2 separate regions of the Homo sapiens genome follow, and region 2 is linked to region 1. Evidence: promoter capture Hi-C in 16 types of primary human blood cells and fetal thymus (Javierre and others, 2016). All regions are on one chromosome and are shown on one strand. Each heading gives the region's core, a stretch centred on a gene start or on the middle of the fragment in contact. The rest is flanking DNA. Distances are from core to core; before and after follow the strand shown.

Region 1 (5,495 bases), core at 1,610-4,109:
GCACCGGGGTGGAGGTGGGGGTTGCCTCCACAAACAGATCAGCAGGGACACAGCCCCCACCTCCACCTTGTGGACACTTCCCTGAGCTGATGGCGGTGGAGGCACAAGAGGTCATGGCTGCTGCAGCTGGTCGTCTGGGGGCTCTTCTGGAGAGGGGACAGCTCCCTTCCTGTCACATGCTTTCCTGTCTCAACAGAGCCGGGGGTTCTGGGGCACTTGGACTCCCGTGGGCTGGTGGGATCAGGGGCTGGGCCAGACACAGGATGAGGCATGGAACCCCTGGGGGCCAGCGGCTCCAGCCCGCTGACCTCTGCCCCTCAGAATCCGGTCCCAGGCTCTCCCCTCCTCCTCTCAAGAACTTCCTGCTCTGTGTGTGTGTGTGGGTGGGTTGTTGTGGGGGAAGCTAAGGGCAGGTGGGCCTGGCTAAAGAAAAGCCTGCATTTCCAAACAAGTCCCAGAGCAGATCAAGCTGGGAGACTGCCCCCAGGAGGACGAGGCTCCTCCAAGCAGGATCTGCTCAGGGGAATCAAAATAAGGTTTAGTGCGTCCAACATCCTGCGTGGACAGTCCTCCAGGACTCCTGCCGCTGCCAGGATCTGAACTGAGGTGGCAGGGACACCTCCTGTCAGAACTTCGGCTCTGCTGCTGGGTTCACTCCTGTGGTCTCACACAAAATGGGCCGGTAGCCTTTGGGCCCACAGCCCCAACCTGCCTAGAGTAGGCAGCCGCTGAGTTTATGAAAGAGGCTCCTGGGAAAGGAATCATCTCCCACCCTCTGCAGAAGTTTCCATCCCCACCCCTATCCACCAGGCTCCTTTCCCCACAGGGTCAGGGGTGGACACTTGAGCAGGACCAGAACCACCAATCCCCAGGGGAAGCCTTGCCCATCCCTTGGCTGCAGGGGCAGTACCCTGTGTGTTTCCTCCTGGGGCAGGGCTCCTGTTGCTGCCCAGGACCCAGTGGAAAGGATGGTGTGACAGGTGCACCAGTGGACCCTGAGACACCCTCTTTGTCCTCAGGCTTTGACCAATGAGCACAGTAGCCAATCGGAGATCAAAGCTGGATAACCAGGAAAATCTGGATCTCAACTGTGTGTGTGCCTGGGGGTAGGACTGCCAGATTTAGCAAAACAAAAACAAATTTAAAAACAGGGTATATCTAGACCGGGTGCGGTGGCTCCTGCCTGTAATCCCAGCACTTTGGGAGGCCAAAGCGGGTGATCCACCTGAGGTCAGGAGTTAGAGGCCAGCCTGACCAACGTGGTGAAACCCCATCTCTACTAAAAGTACAAAAAGTTAGCCGGGCATGGTGGCGGGCACCTGTAATCCCAGCTACTTGGGAGGCTGAGGCAGGAGAATTGCTTGAACACCCAGGAGGCAGAGGTTGCAGTGAGCTGAGATTGCACCATTGCACTCCAGCCTGGGCGACAAGAGTGAGACTCCGTCTCAAAAACAAACAAACAAACAAACAGAAAAAACAGGATATCCAGTTAAATTTGAATTTCAGATAAACAATTTTAAAATAATGTCTCAAGCAGAAGTTGGAACATACTTATACCCAAAAAGTATTTGTTTATTTGTAATTCCAATTTAACTGGCATATTATTCTGTATTTTATCTGGCAACCTAGAATGGGGGTAATAGCCCCCCAAATCGCTCCCTTTGTTAATTGGTCCCTGTCTTCTGTCCCCCAACCCCTAAAGGCAGCAGCTGACTCCCCCAACTAGGGGCGGGGCCTGTTAGGGTCAGGCAGTGCCTCTAACCCAGACGCTGAGCAGGAGAGCAGAGAGGGGGTGCTTCAGCCTGAAACTACCCCTTCCCCAGAAGGCTGGGGTCCCAGGCGGGCCTGGCACCTGGGCTCAGAGGCTCTGGCTGGATTTGCCAAACTCCCTGATTGTAGCATGTTTGTTTCTGGTCTGGGGAGCTGTTGAGTACCTGGAGCTGCCCTCTTCCCTGGGGCTCCTCCTGGCAGGCGGCTTCCGACCCTGCCCTCAGGTGGGCTGGCCCTTTCCAGGGCAGGAGAAAAGATACCTCTCCAGAAAAGAGGGAGGCGCAGCCTGGGAGTGGGGGCTCGACCCAGGAGCGAGAAAGAGGAACCCCAGCCAGGCAGGACCCGCCCCAGAAGGTCACTGCTGTTGCTGGCAGCCAGTGAAAAGAGGATCCAGAAAAGGAGAGGGCTTGTTTCTGGTCAGCACCGAAGAAGGAAGGTGTGGAGAGGAGGGGCCGGGCCGAGAGCAAATACCGCCTTTTTGGTGCAGCAGCAGCCCTGTCTCTGACCCCGGCCGTCCTGGGGAGATGAGGTTTAAACCAGCAGACCCTGAAGGGAAACTTGCAGGACCCACAGCAAGCCTGGTACAGGCGGAGGAGGCCTTGCTGTCCCTTTTTGGCCCGTGGGGCTGTCCATCTTAAATTTAAGGAAGAGGGAGGCGGGGTGCAGGGACTCACACCTGTAATCCCAACACTGTGGGAGGTGGAGGCGGGGTGCAGGGACTCACACCTGTAATCCCAACACTGTGGGAGGTGGAGGCGGGAGGATCGCTTGAGCCCAGGGGTTCAAGACCAGCCTAGGCAGCATAGTGAGACCCCATCTCAATTTAATAAATAAATAAGGAAGAAAGAGGGAGACAGTAGCTGCTCAAATCATGGGTGGGAAAGCTGGGCCTGGGAGCGTTTAGCTGGTGGGGTCTTGGCGAAGGCGGGGGACGGGCAGAACCTTGGGTTCATCATCTCTGGGAACCCTTTGTGCACCCATCACCTAGCAACAGGATGCAGCCTTCCCTCCGCCCTGGAAGGCCAGGTCACAAAGGCCATCAGGGCTTGTCCGGGAGCCGGTATCCCCTAAGACTGCCCTGTGCCTCTCGCGGCGATCCCGGCCCAGCGGCTGGGCGTTAGGGCCACCGCTCATGTGCGTCATCTGCTTCGTGAAGGCGCTGGTGCGCGTGTTCAAGATCTACCTGACCGCCAGCTACACCTACCCATTCCGCGGCTGGCCCGTGGCCTTCCGCTGGGATGACGTGCGCGCCGTGGGCCGGAGCAGCAGCCACCGGGCGCTGACCTGCGCGGCAGCCGCGGCGGGCGTGTGGTTGCTGCGGGACGAGACGCTGGGCGGGGATGCGCTGGGGCGGCCTCCACGTGGGGCGCGCAGCCAGGCGCAGTGCCTCTTGCAGCAGCTCCGCGAGCTGCCCGGCCAGCTCGCTAGCTACGCGCTGGCCCACTCGCTGGGCCGCTGGCTCGTGTACCCCGGCTCCGTGTCCCTGATGACGCGCGCGCTGCTGCCGCTGCTGCAGCAGGGCCAAGAGCGCCTCGTGGAGCGCTACCACGGCCGGCGCGCCAAGCTGGTGGCCTGTGACGGCAACGAGATCGACACTATGTTCATGGACCGCCGCCAGCACCCGGGCAGCCACGTGCACGGGCCGCGCCTCGTCATCTGCTGCGAAGGCAACGCGGGCTTCTACGAGATGGGCTGTCTGTCTGCACCGCTCGAGGCCGGCTACTCCGTGCTGGGCTGGAACCACCCCGGCTTCGGCAGCAGCACTGGCGTGCCCTTCCCTCAGCACGACGCCAACGCCATGGACGTGGTGGTCGAGTACGCACTGCACCGCCTGCACTTCCCGCCCGCGCACCTGGTGGTCTACGGCTGGTCTGTTGGCGGCTTCACGGCCACCTGGGCCACCATGACCTACCCGGAGCTGGGTGCACTGGTGCTGGACGCCACCTTCGACGACCTTGTGCCGCTGGCGCTGAAGGTCATGCCCCACAGTTGGAAGGGGCTGGTGGTGCGCACCGTGCGCGAGCACTTCAACCTCAACGTGGCCGAGCAGCTGTGCTGCTACCCGGGGCCGGTGCTGCTGCTCCGACGCACGCAGGATGACGTGGTCAGCACTTCGGGCCGCCTGCGCCCCCTGTCACCTGGTGACGTGGAGGGCAACCGGGGCAATGAGCTGCTGCTGCGCCTGCTGGAGCACCGCTACCCCGTCGTGATGGCGCGAGAGGGCCGCGCCGTCGTCACCCGCTGGCTGCGCGCTGGCAGCTTGGCGCAGGAGGCCGCCTTCTATGCACGCTACCGCGTGGACGAGGACTGGTGCCTGGCGCTGCTGCGCTCCTACCGTGCACGCTGCGAAGAGGAGCTGGAGGGCGAGGAGGCCCTGGGGCCACACGGACCCGCCTTCCCATGGCTGGTGGGCCAGGGCCTGAGCTCGCGGCGGCGCCGGCGCCTCGCACTGTTCCTGGCTCGGAAGCACCTCAAGAACGTGGAGGCGACTCACTTCAGCCCTCTGGAGCCTGAGGAGTTTCAGTTGCCCTGGCGGCTGTAACCTATATGCCCCAGTGGGGGATCACGCACTTGAACTCCTGGCCTTCTTGGTTCACCTCCCCATACCGCCAACCATTGCAGGGGGCCGGCGCCGACGCGGGGCGGGGCGGGGGGGGGCGCGCGGGGTGCTCCTGATCTGCTGTCTGGGGGAGGGTAGGCAGAACACGGGGACTTGGTGCTCTCCTTCCTTCACAGGGGCGTTCTGACCGTCCTCCCATTCTTCCTAGCTCTGTCCCCTCCTTTCTCTCTTCCTCCTACAAATACTTTTGGCTGCCCCCACCCAGCTCCTAAGGGAATGAAAGGTTAACCTGACCCGGTTTATGGCAATACTGTGTGATGGGTGCCTTGATCACCACAAAAGGATGATGGGAACGGGGCTGTGGGGTCCCAGGGAGGAGCCCTTCACCTGGCCTGGGTTACAGGATGGCTCCTGGGAAGACAATGCCAGCTGTGCGCTGAAAGTCTGTGCAAGCTGCTCCCGTGAAAAGGAGGACATTGGCATGGCAGGGCTGTGGGCAGGTCTTAGTGGCTGGACATTCCCAGGAGTTAGCACTGGCTATCATTCTGTAGGGCTCCCTCCCACCTCCAAACTCCTGGCTTCTACACCAGGGCATTCACAGACAGATTGCAGACTCACATGGTGGCATGTGAGGCTACAGATACACTTGCACAGGCCAGAGGATACTACTGCGTGTCCCCTGGAGCCAGGCCTGGGCTGGACTTTGTTCCTGGCTTAGGGATGCAACACAGAATGGGACAAGGCCTCTGCTCACAATGGTCTGTAATGTCACATCTCTGTGGTCTGCCCTGAACTGCCTGAAGCAGGGACTATTGTCCCTACATGTCCCTAGTCCCCGGGCTGGCCTGGTTGGGTTGAGCAAGAATCTCTGGAAAGAATGAAAGGCAGCAAATGGAGAAAACATTACTGAGAGCACGAGAGCAGGCTAAGGCCGTGGTGGTAAGGGACTCGGGCCTGTGCAAGAGTACCAGGAAGACACCTGTGGGAGGAGGTGGCCGGGTGAAGGAAGGGGCAGTGGGAGGAGCTTCCATGCCTAGGGACCAGTACCACCCCAGGCTGGAAGCCCAGAGTGGAGTCCTAGGACATCAGATCCTAAAGGGCTTGAATACCGTTTAAGGCTTTTCTTCCGGGAGCAAGTAGGAGCCAAAGAAGGGAAGTTGCGGGA
Region 2 (5,226 bases), core at 1,912-4,411, 220 kb after region 1:
GGCAAGGAAAGGCAGGGGCCAGGAAGCCCACAGGGACAAGAGGCAGGCTGCTACTTATTCAGCCCACATAACACTCCTGAGCGGTGGGCACAGGTGAGGTCAGGGAAGCTCAACGAAGATGGGCCAGCACCTGGCCCAGGCCACACACAACCAGGCTGACCCCGCTGAGCCGGCCTGTTGTCTCTGCTGTGGGAAAATGCAGCTGTGGGCAGCTGGCAGGGGGTGAAGGTCAGTGCCCTCCCTGCCCCCTCGGGTCACTCTACAACCCCCCAGTCATTCCCCCGTCTCCTCTGGCCCCTTGGGCCTGCTCTCCACCGCCCTGGCTTCTGCCTCTCGGCACACAGCATCCTGAAGTCCATGGGTGGGGCCAGGTGAGCTGGGCAGTTGATGGCGGAGCTGGGATTTGAACCCAGGACCCTCTGCGCCCTGACAGCCCTCAATATATTGGGCTTTGGACCACATGCCTTCCTTCCCATAGAGCTTTCTACAGGCAGGCGTCCCTCCAGGCCCCATTCCCCAGCCTCCTTTGCACATCCAGCACCCCCTGCGCCTTTTCATGGGGATCAAAGGGCCCGAGTGCCGGCCTGACCCTGGTGCAGTCACTGAGGTCACTGTCTTGCTGGCCTTCTCTGGGTGCTGGGTCTGCTGTGCCTGTCTCTGCCCCTCTTCCCTCTTGCCTGTCTGATGCAGAGTGACCCATCCCCTTTGGAGCACTTGCTGCTGTGGGGTACTGCACCAAGACCCTTATTTTAAAGATAAAGAAATGGAGTCTCAGAGAAATGGTGAAATAATATGTGATTCTCCCAGTAGATGAACTCATTCTAGGCACTCAGTCAATCCCCAAGACACAGAATCCTGGGGTCCAGGCTGCAGGGAGTTTGGCCAGACGACACCAGGGCTGGCTGTCATCACATGTCACAAGCACATCAGGGTGTGAGTGGCTGCCACTCCTGGACAGACTGCCTCCCTTCCCTGTCTGTCTGCCCCTGCTCAAGCCCCTTCTCCCTGGCCTCCTTCCTCTCTACCCTTCCCTTCCTGAAACCCCTCCTGCCATCTCTCTGTCCCCTCCTTGTCAGCTGACTTCTGAGCTCTGTATACAGTCTGGGCTTGGGTCAAGGCCAAGGGCAGCAACAGCCCAGAAAGAGTAAAGTGCTCGGTGCACGGGGAGAAGGGCTGGCTGAGGGGCGAGTGCGCAGGGCTCCACCCCCTGGCCGGGGCTGGGGAGAAACACTGGCTGCCATGGAGCAGGATCCCTTCTGGACCCCAGTTCTGACCTCTGCCCCTCCTTCCAGTCAGCTGGAGCCCCCTAGCAGGAGGAGCGGTTTGTCTGAGTTCCTGCGGTCCCGCTTCTGTGCAGCCTGCTGGGCAGGGGGCTGGGAGGGAGGAAAAGGAAGCGGGGGCCTAGGGAAGCCCCAGCGTCTGCAAAGAGCTCACGTCGGGGAGAAAAGTAAGGTCTGCCCAGAAACCTCGGGGCTTTTCAGAGTCCAGGGATTTTGTAGGTCGTGGGCCTGTTTGTCAGAATGGGACAGGGGTGGCTTCCTTTTGTACTGCATGCGTGAGTGTGTGTGGGGTGTGTGTGTGTGGGGGGGTGGGTGTGGGGGTGTGGCATGGGGCATTAAAGGGGTCACAGGAGGCTATTCAGGATGGAAAGGAAGGCCAGAGGGTGGGATTTTTGTCTGGGGGCCGCAGGGGTTCCCCTTGCCCAGTCTCTTGGTCCTCTTGGGCACAGCTGCTGCTTCTTCAAAGGCCAGCTTAGGTCACTTCCGCTGCCCACAGCACTGCCCTCTCCCTGGCCCCCTGGTGGGATGACTCGCACTCGAGACCACTGCAGCCTGAGGCTACCCTTACATCTGGGGGTGACTTCTGCTGAAACAGGCTCTTTCTCCGTCCTCCCCAAGACTGGGGGCCTCCCATAGACCCACAGAACGCCAGGTTGCCAGTGGGGGGCAGATCGGGATTAGGGGTAGGCGTGTCCCTGACCTGTTACTTTCACACCCACCCACTTGCGTCTCCCCACTTTTTTGGGAGAGGCCCCACTCTCTGTACCCTGATGTCTGTGAGGTGCATGGGAGAGGCAGCGTCCATACTCCCCGCTTCCCTCGGGGTCCTGGGGAGTGGCAGCAAAAAGACCAGCGAGCCTTCGGAGAATTATAACTTTATGTGGGAGGCTGGGGCGCGTCGCACACTCTCAGTCGCCGTCACCGCGGGAAGATGGTGCCATCCACGTTCTCCTCCAGGATGGTCTCCACGCGCCTCCGCTGCCGGGGAGAGAGGCTGGGGTCCGGCGTGTGCGGAGGCGGGCAGGGCCCCTCCCCTTTCCCCGCCCCTACCGGGGCTTGTCTGCACCTCTTGGCGGTCCAGGGGGTCCGGGATCCGCGCGGGCTTCAGCTGCGGCGGCAGGAACAGCTCCAGCCGGATGGCGGCGCGCGCGGACTTCTGCCGCTGGATGAGCAGCGCGATCTCCTCGGCCTGCGGGGCCCGGGTAGCTGAGCGCGCGCCGAGCCCCGCCCCGCCCCGCCCCGGCCGGCTCCGCTCAACGCTCCCGGTGCGCCCCCTCTGCCCTCCGACCCCCTCGCCTCACCCGCATGCGGGTGTAGCGCAGCCGCAGGGCGCGGACTCGCCCGCGGGCCTCCGCTGCCTTGAGGACGCCGAGGAGCCGGTTCTGGCGCTCGGCGGGCAGCTCGAGCGACTGCGTCCACGGGCGCGGGTCGGGCATGCGGTACCCCGGTTCCACCGACCCGCACGGGAAGGTGGAGGCCGCCGCGCCCACGTCCTCCAGCAGGTCGCCGAAGAGCAGATGGCGGTGGCGCTGCGCAGGGAGCATGGCCGCCAGTCCCTGCGGCGTCAGGGCCCAGCCCGGCTTGGGGGGCTCTGTCGCGGGCGCCCCCTTGGCACGCTCCTCACCCTGCGCCGTGCCTGGCGCGCTCTTCCCGCTTCGCTCCCGCGGGCCCTTGCGCCCGCCCTCCTTCGCTGGCGGCGGCATCCTCCCGCCCTGCGGAGGGAGGAGGGCGTCCCGTCGGTGCCGGGGCTGGCACCGGGCCCTGCCCGCCCCTCGGCAGGGCCCCAACGTGCGCCCCAGCTCCCGCCCGCTGGGCTCTCCGCAGTCGGTTTTGAGTTCCGCACCCCCAGCCTCTGAGCTTTGCCCAGGCGCTCTCCCTCTCCCAAGCGCACGTCCCCAGCAGCTCTGCCATCGGCTGATCCTGCTCAGTCCTGCAGTCAACTAGGACTTTCTGATCAACTCAGTTGTAGGAAATATCTTTCCTACCCGATGGACTGTTCTGTTTGAATTGAGAAAATGCTGAGACCCCACTGGGTTGATCTCAGGCCCTGCCACATGGAGAGCTCTAGGTGACGCCTGGGGGACCTTCGTTGTGCCCCTATGTCTGCGGTCCCCGACAGTCAGGGTCTCCCACCAGACAGCTCGCTCTTGCCCTTCGAGGCCTAGATGGTTGTGGGGAGCAGAGCCTAGAGGGCAGGTGACAGAGGAGGGAGGGTCCAAAAGCCCAGCTGGCTCCTCCCTTCCCGGCCCCAGCCTACAGCTGCCACCTTGTCCAGCCAGGGCTGGGCTCGCTGTGCCAGAGGCAGAGCCACGGCCAGCCCCAGCGGCGGCTAACGCCCCCGCCCCTCCTTAGCTCCTGCAGCCGAGGCCCAGCCCCCACCTCTTGGTCCCTACACCCCCTGCTTGCTGCCTTCTCTGGTCGGAAGAACCTCCGCCGTAGCCCAGACTCTTTGGGCTTGTTGACGCGGTTGCCCAGCAACCGGGAGTCCTGCCCCTCCCTCGACCAGGTGGGGCGGGTCGTGGCGGGGGGCAGGGTCCCCTCCGGAGGGCCCTGGGTTAGAGTCTGGGCGTGGACGCGCCCCTCATAGGGGTCATTGGGGCATAGAGGCATAGAGCCGGCTTCTCCAGCTTGGGTGAGCGTCCTTTCCAGGCGGCCGCAGACGCGCCATCCTAGGGGTTGTGGGCCCAGGTTCCTGGCTTGAGGGGTCTTTGGGGTTAGTTTTGTGGGTGGGGCCCTCGGCTATGAGGAGACCTTTGTGGTTAAGGCCCATTCCCTTCTGATGGCCAGGGGGCTCTGGCCCCAGCCACTGGTGTTCACAGAAAGGGATAATGGGGCAGAACTCAGGACCCCTCACCTCTTCTAGGGCAAGTTTGGGGTCTCAGGGGTCCTGGTGTCCCCAGGACTAGAGCTGGGTTTTGCTGAACACTGTGTCTTGGGATCTTGGGTCCTAGATACTAGATTTTGGAAATCTATTTGTGCATTCCTTTGTTTTGTAACTAATTCTCAATTAACTACTTAATCATTTTATAATTTCTTCAGGCACTCATAAGTGTGTTCTAGAATTTCCTAATTCACGTGCTTATTCCACAGTTTAAATTAGGCAAAAATTAGTGCAAAAAGTCCAATCTGTTACGTATCTATTACTTCCACGAGATGTCTGTACTCTCTCTATATTCACAGACCTGCCGCTGGGACACCTTGCTGGGAGTTTGGAACCTGTGAGTTTGGGAGTAGGGCTGTCCCAGCTGAGGAGCAGGGTCTTAGCTGAGCTTCTGGCCTTTTGGCAGGAGGCTGTTGGGTGTTCCCATTGTTTTTGGGAGACTGCCCTGGCCTCTCAGTAAGAGGGTAAATTTTGACATTCAGCCCTATGTCCCAGAGCCGGCACCCCATCCCACAGCTAGGCCCATCCTTCCAGCCCTCAAGCTTTTGCTGCTCCCCAGGAAGGCCCTTCCTGGTGCTGTTCCCTCCCCTCCTGCAGGTGCCTTTGGGGTCCTGCCTGGGCTGCAGCACCAGCTTGGCTTGAGGAAGGTCCCTGGTCTCCAGAAGCAGCAGTGACTGCTTAGGGATGCTCACCCAGCAGCCGCTTTCTCTGGGCAGCCTTTGTGCTCCCATAGGGGTGAGTCCTTTGAGACAGGGACCTGGGCCATCCTCTCAGCTTCCCTGGGTCCAGGCCAGGGGGACACATGGGTGGGGCACTTTCTGGCTCTTGGCGTTTGTGGGGGAGTCACGCAGGGAGTAGGGGAATATTCTTCTGTTCTGCAAGAAGGGGCTTGTAACCTCTTTTTATAGGACTGGAAAACCTTGACACCCCCTAGTCCATAATTTGCAGCAGGTACTCCCAGGGCCTACCTGGCTCACATTCCTCACCCCTACTGTTTCTCCACACGTTTGCAGTTCTGCAAGAAGGGAGGTGTTCTCTGTGTGTTTGGGGTCCAGCAACTGTGAG

What was found. Contacts are between HindIII fragments. The CHiCAGO score rates a contact against its expected background, and 5 or more counts as called.
Region 2: a contact is called between the fragment with the promoter of LKAAEAR1 here and the fragment with the promoter of ABHD16B in region 1, in 2 of 17 cell types (endothelial precursors and M1 macrophages). The highest score is 5.4, in endothelial precursors.

What each region holds. Positions count from the first base shown.
Region 1 is chr20:63,858,639-63,864,133 of GRCh38, forward strand. It overlaps ABHD16B (abhydrolase domain containing 16B), which reads left to right and starts at 2,860. Exons shown (of 1, transcript NM_080622.4): 1 at 2,860-4,350. The coding sequence starts at 2,903. The coding sequence ends at 4,312. ABHD16B-AS1 (ABHD16B antisense RNA 1) reads right to left here. Exons shown (of 2, transcript NR_165314.1): 2 at 2,577-5,495. RefSeq lists a silencer at 1-67 and an enhancer at 5,360-5,495. The HindIII fragment of the contact is 10,144 bases long and covers 1-5,495 here.
Region 2 is chr20:64,081,237-64,086,462 of GRCh38, forward strand. LKAAEAR1 (LKAAEAR motif containing 1) reads right to left here and starts at 3,162. Exons shown (of 3, transcript NM_001353425.2): 1 at 2,582-3,162; 2 at 2,347-2,469; 3 at 2,140-2,258. The coding sequence starts at 2,983. The coding sequence ends at 2,199. All of the region lies in intron 1 of OPRL1 (opioid related nociceptin receptor 1), which reads left to right. RefSeq lists silencers at 2,255-2,314, 2,495-2,574. The HindIII fragment of the contact is 5,360 bases long and covers 1-4,701 here.